Regions from separate parts of the Homo sapiens genome. Here all the other regions are linked to region 3. The links are contacts of gene promoters, found by promoter capture Hi-C in blood cells and fetal thymus (Javierre and others, 2016). All regions are on one chromosome and are shown on one strand. The core of a region is centred on a gene start or on the middle of the fragment in contact, and the rest is flanking DNA. Distances in the headings are between cores, read along the strand shown. Region 1 overlaps GNA14 (G protein subunit alpha 14). Region 2 overlaps GNA14 (G protein subunit alpha 14). Region 3 holds the start of GNAQ (G protein subunit alpha q). Region 4 overlaps VPS13A (vacuolar protein sorting 13 homolog A).

Region 1 (2,700 bases), core at 161-2,660, 540 kb before region 3:
CACTGTTATGTTACAGAGATGGCTTCTTTCCATAATCCTCATGAACCAACCTCTTCTCACTTCCAGCTTTTATTGTGCAGCTTCCTTACCTCTCAGCTTTCATAGAATCGAAGAGAGTTAGGGCCTGGCTCTGGATTCAATTTTGGCCAAGGCAATGTTACAGCTGTTTGATCTTCTATCCAGACCACTAAAACTTTCTCCATATCAGCAATAAGTCTATTTCACTTTCTTATCATTTGTGTATTCACTAGAGTAGCACTTCCAATTTCTTTGAAGAACTTTTCTTTTGCATTTACAACTTGGCTATTTGGTGCAAGAGGCCTAGCTTTTGGCTGTCTCAGCTTTTTACATGCCTTCCTCACTAAGCTTAATCATTTCTAGCTTTTGATTTAAAGTGAGAGATGTGTGACTCCTCTTTTCACTTGAACATTTTGAGACCATTGTAGGATTATTAATTGGCCTAATTTCAATACTACTGTGTTTCAGGTAATAGGGAGGCTTTAAGGAGAGGGAGATAGATGAGGATTGGCCAGTGGATGGAGCAGTCAGAACATATATACACAATGTTTATTGACTGTCTTCTTACATGGGCATGTTTGTGGTGCCCCCAAATAATTACATTAGGAAGATAATAGATCTCTGACCACAGATCATCATAATGGATATAATAATAGTGAAAAGGTTTGAAATATTGGGAGAATTATCAAAACTTTCCAGAGACATGAAGTGAGCATATGCTGTTGGAAAAATGAACCCAATAGACTTGCTCAATGTAGTGTTACCACAAACCTTCAATTTGTTAAAAAAAAAAAAAAGGCAATATATATAAATTGCAATAAAGTGAAGCAGCATAGAATGAGGTATGCTTGTATTATGTTTTTTCATCTGATGACTGAAACAGCTACTAAGTGACTAGTAGGCAGAGAGCATATACAGCATGAATACACTGGATGAAGGGATGATTCATGGCCCAGGTAGGATGGAGCTGGACAGTATGAGATTACATCATGCTACTCAGAATGGTGTGCAATTTAAAGTCGTTTCTTTCTGGAATTTTCCATTATTTTTGGACTGCAGTTGACTATGGGTAACTGAAACCAAGAAAGTGAGACCATGGAGAAGGGGAATTGCTGTACAGAATTTTTAAAAATATTATGTACCAGTGTTACTTTGATTAAAAATAAAAAAGTAAGCAGTTGAGGGAGCTTTAACTAGTCAATTGACATTTTGCCATCTCCTCTTCCTTATCTATAAAATAGGAATGCTATCTTATGGTATTTTTGTAATTGCCAAATAAGCCAGTATGTAAAAGCACTTTATAAATGATAAAGCTAAATCCAAGAGACATAAAAATGTAAACAGGAGAACCATGTTGCTGTTTTAGTTATACTGAAAACACAGATAGGCACTACTGAGTCCTAACCCAACACAAGTCATATGTAACACACACATACACACACCACATTCACAGCTGAAAACTAGGATGTTTTGGTTCATTAAGAATTGTGGGTAAATAGCAGTAAGAATATTAACCATTTATGAATTACAGATTTTGAAGGAATTAGAAGTACCTACCACTGAAGCCATCCTGAGCATGATCTAGTCTCTTTTTAGAGTTTCAGTAGACACATCCAGGTCTCACCATCTCGCTCAGATCTCACTGTCTCACAGAGTTGTTATTAGGAACAACAATGTGCCAAACATACCACGTTGGGCACTGGAGCCAGTTTATACACAGCTGAAAAACCCAGTTGACATCACATTTGATACCAGGACCATCATCTAAAAAGGTCATTGATAATGTGGAAGATTCAGGGAGAAAAAAAAACACTTAAAGCAATGTACAGGCCAAAATAGCAGTGTAGAAGCAAGCTGCCTTCACTCCACCTGAGAGAACAAAAAATACAAAGCCAGCAATATCTTAGAACTCACATATGAGGAGGATATATTTCCTAGGGGCACAGAGAAATTTAAAAAACTGTGAGGAGGTGGTAAGATAACTGAACTTCCATATCCTTGATTCTGCTGTCTCCAATCTACCCGGCACCAAGTGCATGGAAAATTTCTGCCTGACTCAGGGTTTCTACACTGGAAAGAGTAAAATCAAGGTGGATAACTAGCCTCCCCACCTTCTTGGGTTCCCTGGCAGGAGACCTGTCCTTCCCTCAATCCATGGGAAGCATCATGAGCGCCTGAAAAGATAAATATCACTGAGGACAGCCAGAAACAAAGCAGGGAGGCAAGACTTCCATCCACCACCATGGAAACTCTGCTCTGTAACTCAGCCAAAGCTGATGTTAAATCAGAGTGTTCAGCAGCATCACTCTGTAGGAGGTACATTCCACAGGTCCTCTGGGCACAAACACCTAGTGAGCCTTCCCATACTACTAAGAATCCCATTTGGGACCTCACCCATTCAGATGGGCAGCACTCTGGTTTTTACTAGAATTGAGAAAAGCTTGGGCTCAAGGCACCCTCTAGTGCCAAAAAGGAGGCAGTGTTTTAGTGTGAGGAAAAATAAAATAAATAGTAAGTTACAAAGACTCTTTAAGCAAACACACCTAATTAAAAAAAAAAAAAAAAAAAAAAAAACAGAACAAGCCAGACAGAGAAGACTGGAATTAATAACTAATCCTTCAGTGCAAAGAAACAGACATACATCACATGAAACAACAGCAAACAGGAAACCATGGCCTCCTG
Region 2 (3,070 bases), core at 141-2,640, 600 kb before region 3:
TCTTGCTCTGCTGCCCAGGCTAGTCTCGAATTCCTGGTTTCAAGCGATCCTCCCACCTCTGCCTCCCAAGTCCCTGGGATTACAGATGTGAACAGGAAATGCCCAAGAAAGTGAAAATCTGTCATCTCTATGGGACAGTTTGCATGCTGGGACATCTAAATAGAAATCTTTTTACCTTCAAGGATTAATGAATTAAAAATTGAGCTGTATGGATCCAAAATACAGTGTGTAGGCCTTCGCAGGCAGCCAATAAACAAAGGATTGAGCTTCCTGTGTGTGCTGCGAGCGCAGCCTCCTATCTGTGCCACTAGAGGACAGCACCAGATCAGCAGCTGATGGGTCCACGGCCCCGCTGCTCTAAACTTGACTTTAGATTTTAGCGCAATTGGACCTGCTGTCTTCTGATGGGGAAACCAGAAAGGCAGAGGGATATAGAGAGGAGGAAAGTAGAAGCCAAAAGCAAGGGTATTTCTTGTTTAAATCAGATAATTTCAGCACTCCTAAGGAGATCAGTCCCACTTAAGGGACCTCAGATTTGATTTGAGTCTCTCATTGAAAACGACAGGCTTAGAACACAGCAAGAGCAGGCGGGTGTCGGCAGGAAGAGAGGTCTGCGATCCACAGAGTGACCGAGGGCTTTAGGAGGTGGTGAGAGATGGCACTAAGAGGTCAGGAGGGATATGGGAAAGCAAAGGCAAGTAGCGCTGCCACTGTGCACCGCATTTCAGCAGCGTTCAGCGAGAAACTTCTTTGAAGTGTGGCCGAGCTTGCCTGAAAGCACCGCGGGCGGCCAGGGTGGGCTCTGTACTCACTATTTGGCAGAGTCCGACAGCTGGTACTCCCTCCTCCTGTCGTAACACTCCTGGATGCCTGGATCTTGCCAGAGCTGCTTGATGGCCTCCACCTGCTCCCTGGAGAGCATGGAGACCTTGTCCACTTCCACTTCTCTGATTATCTGGGCATTTTCCTACTCAAAGGAAAGAGAACCTTGCATCAGGCAAAGGAAAGGAAGCCAACCCATTGGCAATGTCGGTACAAGTCTTGCCCTGGTCTGTGGATTTGGAGAGCTCTCACTAGGCATGGGGCGTGGTGGGCACCCTCCCAGGGGCCGCTCACAGCCAAGACACCCACTGCAGCCATGCTGAGTGGAGATGAGGTGGCTGCTTAGCTCCGTGGAGAGAGCCACCAGCAGCCCAAGACCTGCAGCTTCTGTGCCCAGCCATGTCCTGGGCCAGTTTCGCCAGCATTCAACAACACCCAGTGGTGAATAAAGAGTCACTGGAGCTTTCATCCTACCAGCAAACTTTACTTCTTCATTAACATATGACTCATTTGAGTATCTGCATAGCCAATGAGGCCATTTAAAAATGGCACACCAAGGTTTGGGTGGTAGAAACTGGTCCACCTGGTACAGGCAATAAGGAGGCGCCTTGTCTTTAGAGAAGTGAAACACAATAACAACTTATCATCAGTCTGGGATTTTGTTCTTTCATTTAAAAAAAAAAAAAAAAAAAAAACACTGGCCAGCTGCGGTGGTTCATGCCTGTAATCCCAGCACTTTGGGAGGCCGAGGCGGGCCGATCACAAGGTCAAAAGTTCAAGACCAGCCTGGCCAACATGGTGAAACCCCATCTCTACTAAAAACACAAAAATTAGCTGGGCATGGCGGCGCGTGCCTGTAATCCCAGCTACTCAGGAGGCTGAGGCAGGAGAATCGCTTGAACCCAGAAGGTGGAGGTTGCAGTGAGCCGAGATGGTGCCAAGGCACTCCAGCCTGGGTGACAGAGCGAGACTCTGTCTCCAAAAAAAAAAATATATTAATAATAATTGACTTTACTTTTTAGAGCAGTTTTAGCTTGCCAGCAAAATTGTAGGGCAAGTACAGCGCATTCTCACACAGTCTGCTTTTCATTTTCTTGCATCACTGATACAACTCTTTCCCACTGGGAGCCTCCCTCCCAATGCACTACTCTCCCCACACCACTGATTATTATATTACCATATTTATTATTACTATGATTATTAAATAATTATTGCTCTATTACTACAGTAATTAAGGCCATTATTACTGTAATTATTACTATTACAGCGGTTACCATTTATTGGCTATGTACTATGTGCCAAGGCCTCTACATACATTATCTCATTTAATCAATGGGAGGCTAGCATGAGCCAGAAATCTTTCCAAACCTCAGAAAATGGAAAAGATAAGGTTGGCCTGCAGCCACAACATTTCCCCGTGTTGGCCCCAGAGACTCAGCATCCTTTCCTTGGCTGCAAGTTGTAGCAGACAAGTGAATCCTGGCAAGAGAAGCAGGACCCCAGGCTCTTATTCCCCCTCCCATATTTCTGCATCCCACAGCAGTTACATCACCAAGCAGGGCTGGCTACAGCAGCAGCTGTGAGTCAGCAAACCATCTGCTTGGTAGCTGGGATCTCAAGTGTAGACGGTACCTCCTGAAAAGTCACTTTTATTGTGCGTTGTTCATCCTTATAATTATCCAACAGCAAGCCAGAGAAAAGGAGGATCTTACACATCCACCTGGCTCATCCTAACCAAGGACTGTGAATGAATCGATGTGACTTTTCCCCACACCTGTCAGGAAAGTGAATGTAAACTCTTCCTGGAGACTGTAGGACCTTCAGGCAGGTAGGATCTCAAACAAGGTCCAGGCAGGATGGATTACTGGAAAGTGCGCTGGCCTGGGAATCAGGACCCTGAGTTCTAAACAGTGTAGTTGGGACTTTTAAGGACCCCAACAAGTTACCTGCCTCAGTGTCCTCATTTGTAAAACGAGCCATGATTTCCAGGGGTACCTGAATTATAAAGTGTTACTTATATGTAAGTAGAATTAGCCTTTACTATTGTAGCAGATGTCTAATAAGTATTTCTTGTTTGCAAAAACAGGACACATCAGTAGCCTCTAAACCCTGACTTCTAATCCCACCACTGGCATGCTGCATGTCACGGACCCTATTCTTGGCTGGCGAGAATGATGGATGGAGAACCTGGACAGTGTTTATCCAGTGTGGTGCAGAACAGCTCTCTCCCATGTCCTCCCCTCCTCTC
Region 3 (3,033 bases), core at 521-3,020:
TGCTAACTTAGTGTTGAAGCAGAATTTTTTTTTCAAGACTAGAGGGAAATTTTTCCTGTATGCTTCCCGTTTTTCCTTCTCGCCCAGATTCCAAAGACATTAAAATGCTATCTGTTTTAAACAAAAGGTTTCTATTTGTTGCCAAGAGAGTAACTGAGAGACTGCACTGGTTTTCGGTAGTAACTATTGTGAACTGAGGCCTACATCTAGGTTGCCTCATTAAACAAAAGATACCGGTCGCTGTCAACAACCACACAGCACAACGCTCCCCTACCCTCATCTTTATCTAGAAGGAATGGTGCAGACGAGAATAACGCCTGTCACCATCCACTGGCCAACTCTTCTAGGCTCCCTCCTTTCGATGGTCTGGTGGCTAGAGAACAGCACTTGTGTGACACATTTGGGCTTGCCCTCCCGCCTCGCCCCCAGTACACAGACCCTTTCCTTGGAGGGCCAACCACTTGGCTTCCTCACCATGAGTGCTCCGGGAATCCAGCTGCGAGTCTGCCCACCGTTCCCCCATTCCCTCCTGACCCCATAGGGCACTGATAATGGATGCACACCGGCCACTCCACCGCAGGCCATCCCCCAACGTGCCCCGGCTCCGCTCGCCACCCGCTGGGCCACACACACGGCTCCCCACGCCACCACCCCATGGGGTGCCGCGGCCACGACACTGGAAGTTCAACCCCTCTGCCCACCTTTCCACCCCCGCGCCTCTGGTCGGAGTGATCTGCCATTTAGCAGATGCACAGCAGATAAGGTACAGCCCTCAGGGACACGAAAAGGAACAAGCCAAGGCACCGGGCAGGGCAGCCCCGACCCCTGTGCTGCGTGTGTGTGTCGCTGTGTGTGTGTGTGTGTGTGTGTGTGTGTGTGTCTGTGTGTAACGCGCCCGCGCGCCCGCGCGGGTGAAGGCAGTGGCCGGGGGCGCGCCCGGGAGGGTAGGGGCGAACCGCGGGCGCCGGGGGGCGGGGGCGCCGAAGGCAGCTGCCCCGCAGGGCCAAGGATGGTGGGCTGGGGGCGCAGAGGCCCGGCGGGGCCCCGGACGGTACTCACCGAGCAGCAGCAGCTTGAGCTCCCGGCGGGCGTCCCGCTTGTCCCTGCGGAGCTGCCGCTCGATCTCGTCGTTGATCCGCCGGGCTTCCTTGGCCTCCTCGCTCAGGCAGCACGCCATGATGGACTCCAGAGTCATTCTTCCAAAGTGCCTCCGCTGCAGCCCCGCCGGCACCCCCTGCTCACAGCGCGCACACACACCCTCCCGCCCTCGCTCCCCCGAGGCAGCGGTGGCCGCCGAGCCCCCGCCGCCCGGGCGCGCGTCCGGGACGAGCTCCGGGAACCGCCGCGGGGGCGGCGGCCAGGGCCGGGGCCACCAGGTGGGCCGGGGGCGCGGTGGGAGCGGATAGTCTGGGCCGACGGGAGAAGAGAGGCGGGCGCGGGAGGCGGGCGCTGGCTCGGGGGGCGCGTGAGAGAAGGCCGCCGCGCCCGGCCTCGCTCAGACGCCCGCGCCTCCTTCCCCGGGAACAGGCGGCCCGCCTCGCCCCCCGAGCCGCCGCCGCCGCCGCCGCCTGCGAGGCTCCCCTACGCCGTGCGCCTGGCGGCGAGAGCTCATTCACCGGGGTGTCCCCGCAGCGAGCGGCCGCCGACGGCTCCCCGCGCCCGGCGCGCCCGCTCCTCGCCGCCGCCTGACACGGCTCCCGGGCGCCCTCGGCCCTGTCCGCGCCCACCGCCCGGCTCGCGCGCAGACCCGGTTCCCGTCCCGCCCGGCAACCGCGCGCTCCTCCGCCTCCGCCTCCGCCCCCGCCCCCGCCAGACGCCCACCCCCTGCCCCGATTGCCAGGCGCGGAGCGGCTGCTCAGTGCGAGCCCTCCCCCTCGCCACACACACACATTTTCTTCTTTCTCTGAACTGGAGCACAGATCCGGGAGGGAGGAGGCGGCGGCGAAAGGAGGAGGAGGAAGAGGCGGAGGGGATGGGCGCGGGAGGAGGGAGCCGGGAGGCGGTGCCGCCCGGCCCCTCCTGGAAGGCTTTCCTGGGCTCGCGGCCGCCGCGGCGCGCCTCCCAGTGCGGCTCTCGCCTCGCCCGCGCGGCTCCCGGGCTGGGCCGGCCCCCGCGGGCTCTGCGGACGCCTACTGCTCCCGCACCCTCGGCAGAGTCCGCGGGCGCAGCAGTCACGGCCGCCCCCGGCCGAAGTCGGGGCCAGACCCGGCCGCCGACGCGCAGCCCGAGCCGGCGGCCGCCGTTGCGTGCCAGGGCCGCAGCCGACCTGCGGCTGCCGTCCGGCCGGGCGTGGTGAGACAGGAATATGGCGGCCTCTGCCTGCCTCAGCCCACCGGCCCGGGAGCGCGGCCGCGGCCCCTGCTGAAGTCGCGGGAGGCGGCCCCGCGGAGCCCCGCACGCGCTCCCTGCGGCGCCGGCGCTGGCGTCCGCCGCTCCCGGGCTGTGCCTGTCTGCTCCACGGGGTCGCTCCTCAGCCGTTTCTGTGTTTCCCGTTCCTATTTCTAAAACGCCATTCGGTTAGAAACTCTCACGTCACCTCTGACACCGGTGCAGTCTTAGAAAATAAGCTCCTCTATACTGTGTGGGGCTACTGGGGAAGGGAAGGGAAGGAATTGGCACCGGTGCCCAGAGGTGTAGGGGGAGATTCACAGGCGAAGCTGTTCGCAAAGTAACGTGAGATAGAAATCTAAATCCTGAACAGAGAAAGGAAGCTGCCCAAGTTTCCAAGAGCCTCCCGATAGGTTCCAACTTTTCATGCCTTTGTTTTTTTGGTGGTTGTTGGTTGTTTTTGTTTTTTTAAGTTGTTTTTGTTTTTGTTTTACAAGTTCTCTTGTTTCTGAGAAGGCACACGATGTTTAGCCGCCGAGTAATCGAATTTACTCTTCTAGACTGAGATTGAATTATGGATGACTTATGGGAAAATGTAAAATAATGTGGAATAAAAGGAAAGGAAAGAATGAAATAGAAGAGAAACTAAGGAGGCCCCAGCAAAACGGCATTCTAGTTTTTTTGATTTGCAATATGTGATTGAGG
Region 4 (3,032 bases), core at 350-2,849, 610 kb before region 3:
GCATGTTGTATGTGCCACCAAGTTACTATTAACTGTTTTTGGAATTGAAGACTCTGTATAGTCAATAGTTGTGAAATTCTTCTCAGGCTCCTTAAACCCTCGCTTTGTTGTAAAAGCTAAAATAAACAGCATGCTATATTGTAATTGTATTTCTTGCTGACCAAATCTACTAAATGCTATTGATTTCTCTCTGATTACTAAAACACATTGTTTATTCTCAGTAGTTTCCCCCAAAATGCTTTTTTCTTTGCTGAACTTAAATTGAATCAAACCACAAGTTTAAAATCACATGAAAGTGTGTTTCCATGTTGACCTTTGTTTAAAAAAAAAAAAAAGTGCTTATTTTCTCTGTCGCTAAGCTCCTCCAGTTTTGCTTTTGTCAGAATTAAACTTAACAGTAGAGGTAGTCAGAAAGCTTGCATCAGACTGTCCTCATCCAAAACGAAATACTTCATTACCCAATGTTATGATTTCACCATTCTCAGAAAAATTACAGTCCCCTGCCTCCCTGGGTGTAGTGTCGTGAAGTAGAAAAGCCTTACATAAATAGTAAACATAGAAATTCTTCTGGTGCCCTCTGGCAGCCAGCAGGAGTGGGTCTTGTGACTAATCCACATGGAAAGGATAGTGCCTGTCTTTCCTGTTCCCTTGCCATAAGAACCGTGAAATCTCTCCTTTCCCTGCCACTCGTTTACTCATCACCTCCTCCCATCACTTCCTTGTCTCTAGACTAGAGGGACCCACAGTTTTAAGAGCTACATCATATCATTTGTTGTTTTAGAAGATTGTCTTCATCTAAACAAAAACACTAAGAAATCAGTAGATCACTAGATAATGAGTCAGTGTTTTTAGCATCACATTTTACAATTTACAGTTTTTGTTTGATTCTGTAGCCCATTTTTCTTGAAGGTTAGAATAAGAATCTTCTTGTATTTGAAAACCATCTGCCCTAAATTACATTTAACTACAAGAAATGGCTCTCTGCTGGAGAAATTTAAGCTTGTCTTAGTTGTTTGGTAGTGGCTATGGAATGAGAGGTGTTGAGTCTTGTGCCCCTTCCATGTATTATTTGCTAACTAACTATATTACTAGGCCCTTAATTCCAGCACAGCATGTCTTCTGGTCTATGATAATTGTGTGAGGACTAAGGCAGAGTGCCTGTTCCCTGCCAACTCTCCACCAGAAAATCATAATCAGAAAGAGTGACTTTGATTTCTGGTACTTGTGATCAAAAGCAGCTTGTGATTTCTTCACATTTGCAAAATACTCTCTGAGCCAAAAGGCACATACAGTTCTCCAGTGTCTTCCCTTTTAGAGTATACATATTTGCTGCTTTTCCTTTAGTGTTCACAAAAATCCCAAGGTCAGTTTAGTGTGGCTGAGTTGTTGTTATCTGGACCCTAAACAATCATTACCACCTGTAGACAGTTCTTACCTACCCCTCTCCTCCACAATCCTAGTCCATTTGGAGGCAACTATCCTGTGGCCTCCAAGTGAATAAATCTTTCTTACACTTACTTACGTGATATTTTCTATCATAATTATCTCTCTCATTTCTTCCAATAGTAATAGCGGTAATATTGTTCCATTGAATATCTATGCACCTAGCTCATCTCTTAGAAACATCCCACATAGTAGCATCGTATTACTCTCTGGTAAAAAGAAAGATTAAATTAAAAGGACTCTACACAGTGCTGAATTTCCTGCACCTAAATTATTCAGTTATCACTTGCCAGTATTAGTTGATCCTTCAGGCTATGCCAAGTGCCCCCTCATGTAGGCCTCTGTATTAAAAAGATTGGGACAAAATACTTGATTAGTTTGCCTGTAGAAGCTCAAAGTGTGTACCAAATACATTGACAGTGGATGCTTTCATGGCTCAGCCAACACAGTTCAGAGGAATCTTTTCGGCTTCCAGGGCATTGCTTGTTACCTTTTGTCAGGATCAACCCAAATCCTCAGGGATGCTGTTTTTCCACACTGTAAGTCCTAACTCATTAGTGGGTCATGAAATCAACTTAACAGCTCAAGACCAGTATATTTTAAACGTGAAATAATAAAAAATAGAGGAACAATAGAGCATATAAAATGGTTAAGTATTGGTTCCTGAAATACTGTTTCAGCTAAATATTCTATTTACTGTGTATACTGGGTCACAATATAAAGTGTTTCCTGTTATGAAATGCAATTTAAAAAAAGAAAGCTTGAAAGACTGCTGCAGGAGGCACCGGCCATCCAGTGATTGTTGGAAGAGTCTGGATTGTGTGGAGCCTGACCTTAGATAAGGAGCAGCAGATCCACAACTCAGGAAGTCTAGAGATGCTTAGCACTTCTTCTTTTGAGTGAGAAGATGGAATCACTCTTGGTTTCTAAAATATTTTTCTTCTCTGCTGTGTATCGGGCAACCTCACATGATTCAGTGGGACCAGAAAAAGCATAGAAAAATTAGATCCACACACAGCACCCAAAAAAGGCCATAGTCTTTTGTTTACCTAGATGTATTTTAACCTCTTTACCACTAAGCATTTTACTATAATAGAACTGGGGACATACATTGTCCTTTTGAGTCCGTTGAATCTGCACCATCTACCTTTTGGCTGATTCACCATACAGGTGGCAAAGGCCTTTAAAAATGGGGAGCTAATACGTAGGGCACATTCTGGTAGGGCCAAAATATTCAGTGTCTGGGGGGTGCTATGCAAATATCAATGACTTTTTACTAAAAACAGTGGATTTCCTCATTTCTTTAAGATCCAAGTAGAAAATGTAAATAACTTACATTCTGTATGCAGGACTCAATACAGACTTAGTCAATCTGATTTTTTTTGGTGCTTTTCAGTATAGCGCAACTCTAAAAGGAAACCCATTCACCCTCCTTAGTCCTTTGAAGTATACTTTTGAAATTATACCTTATTGTTAATGGCAACCTAATCAAGCTAGGATTTGTCGGTTAAAATTTTGATTCTTGTAATCTGTACTGTCAATTTTTGGCCACTCTGGCTGTTACAGCAAACTTTTCTCCCACTGTCATA

What was found. Contacts are between HindIII fragments. The CHiCAGO score rates a contact against its expected background, and 5 or more counts as called.
Region 1: a fragment that was not itself captured here is called in contact with the fragment with the promoter of GNAQ in region 3 in 3 of 17 cell types (total CD4 T cells, fetal thymus and naive CD8 T cells); the score reaches 7.9 in total CD4 T cells.
Region 2: a contact is called between a fragment that was not itself captured here and the fragment with the promoter of GNAQ in region 3, in 10 of 17 cell types (naive CD4 T cells, total CD4 T cells, fetal thymus and 7 more). The highest score is 10.1, in naive CD4 T cells.
Region 4: a contact is called between a fragment that was not itself captured here and the fragment with the promoter of GNAQ in region 3, in 2 of 17 cell types (total CD4 T cells and erythroblasts). The highest score is 7.2, in total CD4 T cells.

What each region holds. Positions count from the first base shown.
Region 1 is chr9:77,486,218-77,488,917 of GRCh38, forward strand. The region is part of intron 2 of GNA14 (G protein subunit alpha 14); the gene reads right to left. All of the region lies in intron 2 of GNA14-AS1 (GNA14 antisense RNA 1), which reads left to right. Among named protein-coding and RNA genes, the nearest start is that of GNA14-AS1, 40 kb to the left of the region's middle. The HindIII fragment of the contact is 2,092 bases long and covers 365-2,456 here.
Region 2 is chr9:77,433,556-77,436,625 of GRCh38, forward strand. It overlaps GNA14 (G protein subunit alpha 14), which reads right to left. Exons shown (of 7, transcript NM_004297.4): 3 at 813-967. Among named protein-coding and RNA genes, the nearest start is that of GNA14-AS1, 13 kb to the right of the region's middle. The HindIII fragment of the contact is 6,132 bases long and covers 1-3,070 here.
Region 3 is chr9:78,030,041-78,033,073 of GRCh38, forward strand. GNAQ (G protein subunit alpha q) reads right to left here and starts at 1,771. Exons shown (of 7, transcript NM_002072.5): 1 at 1,060-1,771. The coding sequence starts at 1,195. RefSeq lists an enhancer at 960-1,854. The HindIII fragment of the contact is 11,535 bases long and covers 1-3,033 here.
Region 4 is chr9:77,417,224-77,420,255 of GRCh38, forward strand. It overlaps VPS13A (vacuolar protein sorting 13 homolog A), which reads left to right. Exons shown (of 72, transcript NM_033305.3): 72 at 1-3,032. Among named protein-coding and RNA genes, the nearest start is that of GNA14-AS1, 29 kb to the right of the region's middle. The HindIII fragment of the contact is 1,204 bases long and covers 998-2,201 here.